Linked DNA regions of Homo sapiens: all the other regions are linked to region 1. Evidence: promoter capture Hi-C in 16 types of primary human blood cells and fetal thymus (Javierre and others, 2016). All regions are on one chromosome and are shown on one strand. The core of a region is centred on a gene start or on the middle of the fragment in contact, and the rest is flanking DNA. Distances in the headings are between cores, read along the strand shown. Region 1 holds the start of ANO7 (anoctamin 7). Region 2 overlaps CROCC2 (ciliary rootlet coiled-coil, rootletin family member 2). Region 3 holds the start of UICLM (up-regulated in colorectal cancer liver metastasis).

Region 1 (3,955 bases), core at 886-3,385:
CTGAGCCAGGAGAATGGCATGAACCCGGGAGGCAGAGCTTGCAGTGAGCCGAGATGGCGCCATTGCACTCCAGCCTGGGCGACAGAGCGAGACTCCGTCTCAAAAAAAAAAATGTTACAGCCAAAGAAAGATGGTGCAGCAGATTCTGGGCCTGGGCTCTTCCCAAGGCCTGGAACCTGGCGGGCCCCCTGTGCTGGTTGCGGCTTTTCTCCCTCCCTCCCTTCCTTCCTTTCCCTCAGAAGTAACACAACTTGAAAAAACCACCCACCCAAACAGAGTTGTATGAAGTAAAAATGGAAAGACACTCCTCAGGGCCGAACCCCCTTTAGGTGTTGTGCGTGCACTGTCGCTGAAAGGGCTCCCACTGGGGTGTGGTCACCTCCAGCAGCCGGCCCTGAAGCTCTTGAGTAGACAGCCCTGAGGCCACCAGAGCCACTTTGTCACCAAGAGCAGAGAGCCAGGAGCTCCTGGGAGGTGGCATGTCTTCCTGGGAGGGTCCTTGGCCAATGACTGAGCAGAGTAAGAGCCTACAGTTGCATCCAGGTGAGGAAACGCTTCGTCTTGCCTCCCCTGCAGAGTGCCCATGGCAGGCTGAGGCCACCCTCCACAGGTCTTGGGGAGATGGTGCCCCGCTCATCCTCCCTCCCCTCCTGCCTCCCGACTCCTTTCCTGGTTTCTGGAGCACTTCCCCAGTCCAGCCCTCGTCCAGGGATCCACCTCAGGCGCCTGCAGGCTGAGCTTGGCCAAGCAGAGACCTCTCATGCAGATGCCCTGAGGCCCAGGGCCCCAAGGTCCTGCCGCCCAGGCTCTGCTGGTGCTGACAGGGAACCCGGCCTGCAGGGCCTTCCCGCTGTTCCGAGGCACAACACAGGTCCAAGAACAGGGCCCCTTGGGAGGTGCCAAGCACAGAGGGGCATAGGTATAAGGGAAAGCTGCAGCCAGGATGAGGGTCCGCCTGGAGGGATTTCAACAGGCAGAAGGGGGCACCTGGAACAGCAAGCTGAGCTTGGGGCTCCCCAGTGCAGTTGTGCATGGAGGGCGAGGAGCACGGGTGGTAGGTTCTCAGACACTGCCAGGCACCAAGGAGGAAAGGGGGAGGGGGAGGGAGAGGGGAAGAGGAGGGGCGGGGAGAAAGGATAGGAGGAGAAGGAGGAGGAGAGGGAGAAGTGGGGGGAGGGGGAGAAACAGGAGGAGGGGAGTGGGGAGAAAGGAGGAGAAGGAAGAGGAGAGGGAGAAGTGGGGGGGAGGGGGAGAAACGATAGGAGGAGGGGGAGTGGGGAGAAAGAGGAGGAGGAGGAGGAGTTGGGGGGAGAAATGATAGGAGGAGAGGGAGAGGGGAGAACGGATAGGAGGAGAAGGAGAGGGAGGAGTAGGGGGGAGAAACAATAGGAGGAGAAGGAGGAGAGGGAAGGTGGGGAGAAAGGATAGGAGGAGGGGGAGAAAGGAGGAGGGGGAGGAGGGCTAGGAGGAGAAAGAGGAGGGCTAGGAGGAGAATGAGGACGAGGAGGAGGGCGGAAAGGATGGGAGGAAGGCTAGGACCCCTCCTGTCCTTTTGCAGATGGGGCCCTGAGCATGGGATGTGCCTGAGGTCACCCCTCAGGCATTAGCAGAGCCAGCAGTGTGATCTGGGTCTCCCAATCTCCCCAGCCCCCGGGTGAAACCCTGGCCCACCACTCAGCACATGCTACGTAACCTCAAGGAGCCTCAGTTTCCCCCCACATAAACAGAGCTTACGAGGTCTGCCTGGCAAGGCTTCCAGCAGAGGTGGCACTTGTGGCTGTTCCTGTGGAATCCCACCTCCTCGAGACCCTCCAAGGCAGCAACTATGACAGCTGATGCCAGCCCTGAAATCTCTAAGCAAATAAGGTTCCCAGGAGGACGGCAGCATTTGCATGCGGGTGTGTGAAAGCCCAGCCAAGTGGGCTGCCTCTGTCTGCAGCTCTGAGCCCCACACCCCCTATTTAAACAAAGATAGATCCTGCTCCAGGAGCCGGGAAGCCTTGCCCTGGCCAGCTGTGCTGGGCACCTCCCCTGCCTGCTTCCTGGCCCACTTGCAGGCAAGGTGAGGGCATGCGAATGGCTGCCACTGCCTGGGCGGGGCTCCAAGGGCCACCCCTCCCCACCCTCTGTCCCGCAGTGAGGACGGGACTCTACTGCCGAGACCAGGCTCACGCTGAGAGGTGGGCCATGACCTCCGAGACCTCTTCCGGAAGCCACTGTGCCAGGTGGGGACCCAGCCTAGACGTGTGGGCCACAGGGAGAAGGTGGAGCGTTGGACTCTAGGGAGGCAGGGCGGCACCCCAGCCCACCGGGACTTTCACACACCCTGGCCTGTGGGGAGGCAGTGCCAGGGCCCGCCCTGGTCCCCAAAGCCCCTTGGGGCACGAGGAGGGACACACACTCAGTGCGGCTCTGGACGGGGTACACCCAGCTGGGGTTGGCTTCCTGCCTGCCCAGGGGCTCCCCCATGGAGCAGGTCCCTTCGTTGGGGTGGGGGGCATCCCCATTCTTTCTGCAGAGAGCTCTGAGGAGGGGCCCGCCTGCCCACCACAGAAGGATGGGGGCATGAGGGGCTGCTGGGTGGCCGAAACTCCTCGGGGACTTTCCTCCAGGAACACCCCACAGTCCGTAGTGAGGCTCCCAGCCTGGGGCCGGGGCCGAGTCCTAACACTGAGACCTGGCTCGGGCTTCAGGGTTAGGCAGGTGCAGGCGGCCCAGGCTCAGTCTCTGTCCCTCTGGGCCTCCGCTAATGTGAAGTGAAGGGTAGAACTAGAAGGCTGCCCCTCCGACCTCCTGCGGCGCCTCCATGGTCACACCCTCCGGTCATCGTCGCAGCTCCAAATGCCAGCCCCAGCTCGAACCCTCTCCTTCCAGGGCCACAGATGTCGTGCTCCTGGCCCCGTTTTGCCAGCCCAAGACTAGGAGCCACGGCACCTGTCCTCCCACAGAGAGAGACCCCCGGGGCGAAGGTGCGGGAGGAAGCTGGGACCCCCAAGAGTTGTGAGGCCGGGCTCCATCAGGCCCGCCTTGCTGGGGAGCTCAGGGCCTATGGGTCCTGGCACTGGGTCCTCAGGCCATGAGCGAAGGCAGGCGACTTGAGGGGTTTCCTGTCCCTGGCTCACATGGCTCCACCCTACGGATAAGAGAGGGAGAGGTGTCTGTACTCCAGGCCCACCTTTCTGGGCCTTCTCAGGCTCCACTGAGTACCCAGGCAGAGTGGACGGCATTCAGGGCTGGGGGACACGGGCACTCACTGGATGGACAGACAGACGCCTGCTGTGCCAGGCCTGCCAGACGCTCCCGCCCCGGCACTGGTTTCTTCCTGGAGCTCGTGGCTGGCTAGGGGGTTCTCCATGTGCTCATGGCCAGGAGAGTCTGCCGAGCCAGCCCAGCCCCATTCTACTCCGAGTCGAGTCTGTAAAGTGAGCTCACTGCAGGCAGTGTGGTGGCCCCAGGAACGGGTCTCACCCATCCCCTCTCTGACCCCCATCCCCACCCGGCCTTGCTGGGTGCAGGAGCAGGATGCTGCGGCGACGGGCCCAGGAAGAGGACAGCACCGTCCTGATCGATGTGAGCCCCCCTGAGGCAGAGAAGAGGGGCTCTTACGGGAGCACAGCCCACGCCTCGGAGGTAACAGCACCCAGGAGACTGTGGTGCGACTTGAGAGGTCCTCCCCTGCCTGGGTCTATGCCCCCACCCTGGGCCCAGAGCCTCTGGGGGTGGATGGGCATCACCGTGTTTCTCCTGCATCCCCCGGCAACCCCCAAGCCCTCGCCACCCAGTCCTCAACACACACAGTCAGATCACCGCTCTCCTGGCCTGGCCTGGCTGTGGAGAACCGAGCAGAACCCACTGATGTTCAGACAGGAGCTCCAGGAGGGTAAGGGGGGCCTGGCCAGGCAAAGGCAAGACCAGGGCGGGGCCCTCCCTGTGGTGTCAGTCCCAGTCAGTGCAG
Region 2 (3,955 bases), core at 680-3,179, 250 kb before region 1:
ATGCCTAACCAAGGATGTGAAAGACTTCTACAAGGAAAACTACAAAACACTGCTGAAAGAAATCATAGACGACACAAACAAATGGAAACACATCCTATGCTCATGGACGAGTAGAATCAATATTGTGGAAATGGCCATACTGCCAAAATCAATACACAAATTCAATGCAATTCCCATCAAAATATCATCACCATTCTTCACAGAACTAGAAAAAAATCCTAAATTTCATATGGAACCAAAAAAGAAGCCACAGAGCCAAAGCAAGAACATGCAAAAAGCAAATCTGGAGGCATCACATTACCCAACTTCAAACTATACTATAAGGTAACAGTTACCAAAACAGCATGGTACTGGTATAAAAATAGGCACATAGACCAATGAAACAGAATAGAGAACCCAGAAATAAACCCAAATACTTACAGTCAACTGATGTTCGACAAAACAATCAAAAACATAAAGTAAAGAAAGGACACTCTATTCAAGAAATGGTGCTGGGATAATTGTCAAGCCACATGTAGAAGAATGAAACTGTGTTTCTTTTTGTTAGTTTTAGTGATTACCCTAAAATTATGATATGCACAGTCTATATCCAAATATTATATTACTTCACAAACAATGTAAGACCCTTCCAGCAATACATTCCATTCATCCCTTGCTATGTTTCGAATGTGTCCCCTCCAAAATGTAGGTGTTGAAACTTACTAATTGTGATAGTATTAAGAGATGGGACCTTTAAGAGGTGATTTAGGCCATAAGGGTTCCACCCTCATCAGCGAGATTAAAGCCTTTATGAAAGGGGCTTGCAGCATCATTTGTGTCTCACTTTCCCTTATGCCTTCCACCATGTGAAGGTGCAGCATTCTTCTCATCCGGAAAATGCAGCATCAAGGCACAGCCTTGGAAGCAGAGAGTAGTCCTTGATAGACAGCTGAACCTGCCAGCACCTTGATTTTGGACTTCCCAGTCTCTAGAACTGTGAGAAGATAAATTAATAAATTTCTGTTCTTTATAAATTACCCAGTCTCAGGTACTTTGTTATAGCAGCACAAATTTACTAAGACATCTCTTCCATACTTTTTGCTCTTGTTGTTCTATATTTTATTTCTGTGTGTGTTGTTATAAACCGTACATTACTTTATTAATACTTTTTACTTTTAAATGATTATTTTTAACCATTCACACACACACACTCAATCATCTTTTCACAAACATTTCAGTTATTTGGTAACATTCTTTTCCTTCTTGAGTATGTTTTTAAACATATTAATTACAATACTTTTTGGGTCTTTGTCTGATAACTCTAACATCTGGATCCCCTAATGAGCTATTTCTATTGTCTTTTATTTATTTATTTTCAGTAGTTTGGCCTTGTCTCCTAGTATGCTTAATATTGTTTGTTTTTTTATTATGCTTAATAATTTTTGATTGAATGACAGACTTTGTGTTTTTGTAGATATAATTCATAGAGATAATTTAAGGCTTTGAATGATATAAGCTTCTTCTAGAGGGAATTTGCTTTTGACTTTGGGAAATCAGAATAGGGATAAATTGCCTTTATCCAGTCCAGGATTTAGCTGCTTTGTAACTGTACTTCAGTCTTTTGTGAGGAGTCGTCTATTTCTGGCTTATCCCAGGGTATAATATAACTCTCCTATGTTCCTAATGGGAAATCTCAGGTGTTTACCAGGGTTCCTACTCTTTAGTTAGCCCTAAACTCCAGGTTTTATTTTCTTTTTATTTATTGTCTTTTTTTTATTATCTTTATTTCAGATAGGACTTTCAAAAGTACTATCTGACTTCTCAGACTGTCAGCTGCTATTTTTTTGTTCAGATTCGTAGTCTCCTGGTCCTTTACTACTTCTGAATTATAAAAAATACATACTTTTTCAAAGCAGTACCATTTATTTTATTTTCTGAGACAGGGTCTTTGTTGCCCAGGCTGGAGTGCAGTGGCATGACCATGGTTCACTGCAGCCTCGACCTTCTGGGCTCAAGTGATCCTCCCACATCAGCCTCCCGAGTAGCTGGGACTACAGGCACACATGACCACGCCCAGCTAATTTTTGTGTTTTTTGTAGAAATGGGGTTTTGCCATGTTGCCCAGGCTGGTCTCAAACTCCTGGGTTCAAGTGATCCACCTGCCTCAGCCTCCCAAAGTGCTGGGATTTTGCGCTCAGCCAGCAGTACCATTTTTTAAAATCGCAATATACAATCTCAGGCTTACCTCAAGGCATTTCCTTGCTCTCTGATATCCGCTCTTCTTTTCGTTCCCCGGCTGCTTTGGTATATCTGAACTCTAAGTTATATCTCTTCAATCTCATAAGCCTGCTGAAATCTTAGGCCATGTTCCCAGTCTTTTAGCTAAAGCTTTTTTTTTTTTTTTTTAATTTTTAAGCAGAGTCTTGCTCTGTCGCCCAGGATGGAGTGCAATGGGGTGATCTCGGCTCACTGCAACCTCCGCCTCCTGGGTTCAAGCAATTCTCCTGCCTCAGCCTCCTGAGTAGCTGGGATTACAGGCATATGCCCGGCTAATTTTTGTATTTTTAGTAGAGATGGGGTTTCGCCATGTTGGCCAGGTTGGTCTCGAACTCCCGAGCTCAGGTGATCTGCCCACCTCGGCCTCCCTAAGTGCTGGGATTACAGGCATTAGCCACCAAGCCCGGCCTAAAGCTTTATTCTTGGATACTGAGGCTCTACACCCCCTGTCACTTAGGACTTGGCAGATACCTCAAAGGGGAAATCTGTTGTATTCATAGAATTTCAGACTCACTTTAATATATTTCTCTCTGTAGCCTGAACACCTGGGACCTGACTGCGTTAGTATCTCTCTAATGCTTTTAAACAGATTATTGGATTGTACGTTGTATTGCTTTTCTAGTTGCTTTAGATGGGAGGGTTGGTTTTCAACAACCCACCTCACCATTATCAGAAGCAGAAAGTCCTGGTTTTTACTTTTGAAGAATGTTTTCGCTGGGTATAGAATACTAAAATAGCCATTATTTTCTTTCAGAAATTTAATGAAGTCATTCCATCATCTTCTGGCCTTCATTGTTGCATAGAAAGCAAATGTCAGTCTTGTTCATTTCACGCCTATGTGTCTTTTTCCCTTTGTTTTTTAAAAAACATTTTTCTTTATCTTTGGTATTCAGAAACTTTACTAAGTTGTATATATGTGACATTTTCTTTTAATTTATCCTTTTGGGGGTTACAGCTCATTTTAAGTCTGTGGCTAGATGTATTTTATTAGATTTGGAACATTCTTGGCCTGTATCTGTTCAAATGTGCCCTCTCATCTCCTTTTGAGGCTGTAATTACACATATGATGGGCATTTTTAGCTTGTCCTATATGTCTATAACATTCTTTTGTGTATTTTCTATCCATCCTTCTATCTCTTTATGATTCAGTCTGAACACATTCTTTGTCTCTCTTCCAGGTTATTAGTCCTTTCTTTTATTCTGTCTAATCTGCCATTGTCTATTAATTTTTTTTTTACTTTTGGTTATTATATTTTAAATTGTCTTTTTTATATTTAGTATCCAGTTCTATTGTTAAACTTTACGTCTTGCTATCCATCTTCTTGAACACGTGAATCAGCTATTTTAAAGTTTGTGTCTGATAACTCCAATATCTAGATAACCAGGGTAGGAGGATCTATATCTATTTTCTGTTCTTATTAGTGGTTTTTTTGTCATGTGGTCCTGTCTCCTGATAGGCCAGATCTTGATTAGTCAATCTTATATATAATAAATTATAGAAATAATTTGAGGATCTTGATGATGCGATTCTTCTTCCAGAAAGCATTTATTTTTGTTCTTGTTGTTGTTTGTTTGTTTGTTTTTGAGAGAGGGTCTCACTCTGTCACCCAGGCTGGAGTGCAGTGGCATGATCTTGGCTCACCATAACCTCTGCCTCCTGGGTTCAAGCGATTCTCCTGCCTCGGCCTCCTGAATAGCT
Region 3 (3,955 bases), core at 1,077-3,576, 220 kb before region 1:
CACCCCGCCCCACCTGAGCCTCCTCCTTGTCCCAGGTCCTCCAAGGAGGTTCCGAGGAGGTCCCAGGTAGGTGTCTACAGAGTGGCTGAGGGTGACAACTCCCAGGGCAAGGTCCTTTGGGGCACCTTAGCCCAAGCCTCCCTAAGTGTGGCCAGCTGCCCTCAAGGGACGTGTGAGCGGAGGCAGGAGGCAGGGAGGCTGCCTGGGTTCCAGCACAGAGACCAGTGACCCTGTCCGTGCGGCCCCACGCTCCCAGGTGAGGACACTGAAGGCCGAGAACCAGAGGAGGAGTGGAGAGGCCCATGAGCTGCAGGCGCAGTGCTCGCAGGAGGTGCTGGAGCTGCGGAGGCAGGCAGCCAAGGCAGAGGCCAAGCACGAGGGTGCCCGGAAGGAGGTGGGAGGGCTGCCTGTGGTCAGAAGGGAAGGAGCTGGGCGTCGGGGAGCAGAGGGAGGAGGCCCACCCCACTTCCTCACTGTCTCCCACGGGCGCACCCCAACATCCCTCCTACAGGTCCTGGGATTGCAGAGGAAGTTGGCAGAGGTGGAGGCCGCAGGGGAGGCCCATGGACAGCGGCTCCAGGAGCACCTCCGTGAGAGCCGGGGGGCTGAGCAGACCCTCCGAGCAGAGCTGCACAGTGTCACCAGGAAGCTGCAGGAAGCCAGTGGTGTGGCTGATGCTCTCCAGGCTCGCCTGGACCAGGCCTGTCACCGAATCCACAGCCTGGAGCAGGAGCTGGCCCAGGCTGAGGGTGCAAGGCAGGATGCGGAGGCCCAGCTGGGCCGGCTGTGCTCCACGCTCCGCCGTGGCCTGGGGCTCCAGAGACAGAGCCCGTGGGCCTCCCCGGAGCAGCCTGGTTCCCCCACCAAAGGTCAGAGTCCTCAGTGGAGGCAGGCGGGCCCCTCTCCCAGCTCAGTCCCTGGCCTGGCACCTCTCTTTCAGGCCTCACAACTCACACAGTGAGGGACTCGGACAGGCAATTGTAGGAACCTGTGGCCGTCTCCCCAACCTCCCATGGCTGGGGCAGCAGAGAGGAAAGGGGAAGGGCGTGTATCTGTCACTGTGTTCCTGTCCACGACCCCTCCGCTGTCACCTCCCGCAGGCTCCGACAGCTCCCAGGCTCTCCCTGGGCAACAGGGTACCAGCCCCCCAGCCAGGCCCCACTCGCCCCTCCGATGGCCCTCGCCCACACCCGGAGGCCGCAGCTCAGAGCTCATGGATGTGGCCACCGTGCAGGACATCCTGCGGGACTTTGTGCAGAAGCTCCGGGAAGCCCAGCGGGAGCGGGTAATGGGGGCTGGGGTCCTCCCGCCCACGGCGGCACCCCCCGGGGGTCTCTGGGAAGAACACCTGCTGTCCATCCATCCGCGCGTCCCTGGGTCTGAGGGTCAGTGTCCAGGCCGTCCTGTTTGTTGTGATAAACACCAGCACCACCATGGCCCCCAAGCCCAAGTGCCTTGGGTGGCTGGAGGCCGCCCCCTTCCTTATACCAGGCTGAAAAGCCCCTGGAGCCAGGCCCTGCTGTGACACCCACCAGGGCCCAGGGTAGGGCATTCTGCAACTCATGCCACCCCTGAAGAGCTGCCGGGGCTGGGCAACTGCAGGACAGAGCCAGCAAGCTCCCCTCAATGCTCCCAAAGACCCCTCCGGTGGGGCCAAGCTCCCCAGTGGCTGCTCCTGGCTTCAGGGCTCCCACAGAACCACCCGTGAGCGGCCCCCTCCCACCTCGCTGGATGACTCCAGTGGGCAGGACTGTGGGAAAGACAGAGGCAGGCCCTGAGCCCTGGCCAGGGTCCTCTGTGCACACTCCTTCCCTTCGGGCCCACCCTCCCACCGCTGCCAGCCCCAGGGGGCAGGGTCCCGTCTGCACTCAGCCCCAAGTCCCGCCAGGGGCAGCCCCTACCGGTCCCCCTGACCACAGGCTGTGGGCCGCCACCTGCCAGCTCTCCCACACCACACCTGTGCTTGAAACCTGGACCCTTTAGGCCGAGTCTCACTGGGCGCCTCCACCTCCCCAGGCCTGCAGGTCAGCGCAGCTTCCCAGTGTGATCACCTTCCCCGCACCTTCCCCGAGCCCACGGCCCACACCACCCACTGCCCTGCCCTGCACACCTGCAGGCCAGACCGTGAGCGGCCCCAGCTGGCCCCGACCCTCTAGCAGACACCTTGGCCCTCCACCCGCCCATTGGACTGCCCCCGCTGACCTCAGTCCTTCTGCCCAGGATGACTCCCGCATCCAGATGGCGACCCTGAGCAGCCGGCTGAGCGAGGCAGAGTGCAGGTGTGCCCGGGCCCAGAGCCGCGTGGGGCAGCTGCAGAAAGCCCTGGCTGAGGCGGAAGAAGGTGACCTCCCTTGCCCTGCCCCGCCCACCCTGGGAGTGGCTGTGAGAGTGGCACCACCATGTCCCCACTGCTGCCGGCTATAAGCTTTCAGTCCCTGGGGCAGCTCGGTGGGAAGGGAGCCTGGGGGCAACACCCAAACCACCAGGCCTGGCGAGGCTGGGTCAGCGCTTGGCATCGGAGTTCTCAGCAGCGACTTCCCCAGCACAGAGGAGTGACGTCCACAGGCCCATCAGGGCCCTCCCGATCCGGCCCCCAGCATCCTCTGCCCCCCTGCCCCACCCTGGCCTCCTGCAGTTCCCACTGGGGGCCTTTGCCCTGGCTGTGCCCTCTGCCTGGCACCCTCTCCCCCAGACAGCCACACGGCTCTCCCCGGGCAGGCCCTGCCCCTCGTCACCCCCTCAGAGAGGCCCCTTCCTTCTGCCCCCCACTGCCTCACACTCACGAGTTTCTCTGCTTATTGCCCCTCAATTAAAGGAAAGAGGCAGGAGGGAAGGATGGGTGGGAAGCCGGGACCCTGGGGCAGCCCCAGGACCCTTGAGCTGCAAGGATGGACCCCCACCTCCACGTGGGAGCCAGTCACTCAAGTCCACAGAGCCCTGCATTGCCTGCCTGTGACCTGGGAGGGGCATGGGGGCCCCTCAAGCCACCCTGCTTGCCCCACAGGCCAGCGCCGGGTGGAGGGCGCGCTGAGCAGCGCCCGGGCAGCACGTGCCCTGCAGAAGGAGGCGCTCCGCAGGCTGGAGTTGGAGCACCTGGCGAGCGTGCGTGCGGCAGGCCAGGAGAAGCGGCGGCTGCAGGTGGGGCAGGCGGCAGGGTGGGTCCCAGGTGGGGCACAAGAACAAGGCCTCTCGGTCACCCTCACACCCTGCAGGGAGGCCACAGGGCCGGGAGGTGGGAGAGAGGGGTCTGCAAGGGCTTCTGTGGGTGTTCGGGGCTGGAGCCAGCCCGGTGGGGCCCTGGGGCAGAGGTGCAGGCTGGGCTGTGGCAGGCGGCTTTGGGGTCATCGGGACTGGGGTCGTCCTTAGCAGAGCTGTCCTTACGGTGGTTCTAGCCCTTGTTTTACAGGTTGGGGAAACTGAGGACTTGGCCCTGGGGGCACAGCGAGTGGGGGGCAGAGCCCCAAGTCTAGGCCCTTTCTTCTTGCTGAGGCCACAGCGGCAGGCATGGGGCGGCCCTGGCCCAGCCTTGGGGCTCTTTATAGGGTCACACTGTCCTGCTCCAAGACCACTTTTCATTCCATGTGGCTCAGACACAGAAGGGGCCTCTCAGGAAGGGCTGAAGTCAGTGTCCCTACATGCCAGGCTTTGTGCTGGGGAGGTGCCCGCTGGGTCTGAGGTTTTCAGGTGAGGAGCCTGGGCCTGGAAATGGAACGGCCAGGCAGTGGTGGATGGAGGCCTGGCCCAGGCCTTGGTCCTCAGTGCTGGTGGGGAGCCCCAGGCCCAGCCAGCCCAGCCCCACAGGTCCAAGCAGCCCCCGGGGTGTCCTGAGATCCTCTTGTCAGGACTGGGCCAGGGGACAACTGTTCCGCTCCAGAGAGCTCCCTTGCAGGCCCCAGGGGCCAGAGAACAGCGTGCCTGGCTGAGGCTCCCCAGGGCAACTGCCCCCAGGCGTCCC

Evidence for each region. The method cuts DNA at HindIII sites, captures the fragments that hold promoters and counts their contacts. A CHiCAGO score of 5 or more calls a contact.
Region 2: a fragment that was not itself captured here is called in contact with the fragment with the promoter of ANO7 in region 1 in 5 of 17 cell types (endothelial precursors, naive CD8 T cells, naive CD4 T cells and 2 more); the score reaches 5.9 in endothelial precursors.
Region 3: the fragment with the promoter of UICLM here is called in contact with the fragment with the promoter of ANO7 in region 1 in 10 of 17 cell types (naive CD8 T cells, naive B cells, naive CD4 T cells and 7 more); the score reaches 10.6 in naive CD8 T cells.

What each region holds. Positions count from the first base shown.
Region 1 is chr2:241,186,542-241,190,496 of GRCh38, forward strand. ANO7 (anoctamin 7) reads left to right here and starts at 2,136. Exons shown (of 25, transcript NM_001370694.2): 1 at 2,136-2,225; 2 at 3,516-3,630. The coding sequence starts at 3,523. It overlaps LOC105373971 (a long non-coding RNA gene), which reads right to left and starts at 1,881. Exons shown (of 3, transcript XR_924064.3): 1 at 1,735-1,881. RefSeq lists enhancers at 1-210, 1,406-2,090, 2,091-2,774, 3,708-3,955. The HindIII fragment of the contact is 15,628 bases long and covers 1-3,955 here.
Region 2 is chr2:240,941,115-240,945,069 of GRCh38, forward strand. The region is part of intron 14 of CROCC2 (ciliary rootlet coiled-coil, rootletin family member 2); the gene reads left to right. Among named protein-coding and RNA genes, the nearest start is that of UICLM, 24 kb to the right of the region's middle. The HindIII fragment of the contact is 872 bases long and covers 1,494-2,365 here.
Region 3 is chr2:240,965,125-240,969,079 of GRCh38, forward strand. UICLM (up-regulated in colorectal cancer liver metastasis) reads right to left here and starts at 2,327. Exons shown (of 9, transcript NR_033841.1): 1 at 2,203-2,327. CROCC2 (ciliary rootlet coiled-coil, rootletin family member 2) reads left to right here. Exons shown (of 32, transcript NM_001351305.2): 23 at 257-394; 24 at 512-869; 25 at 1,101-1,285; 26 at 2,221-2,341; 27 at 3,005-3,138. The HindIII fragment of the contact is 9,726 bases long and covers 1-2,423 here.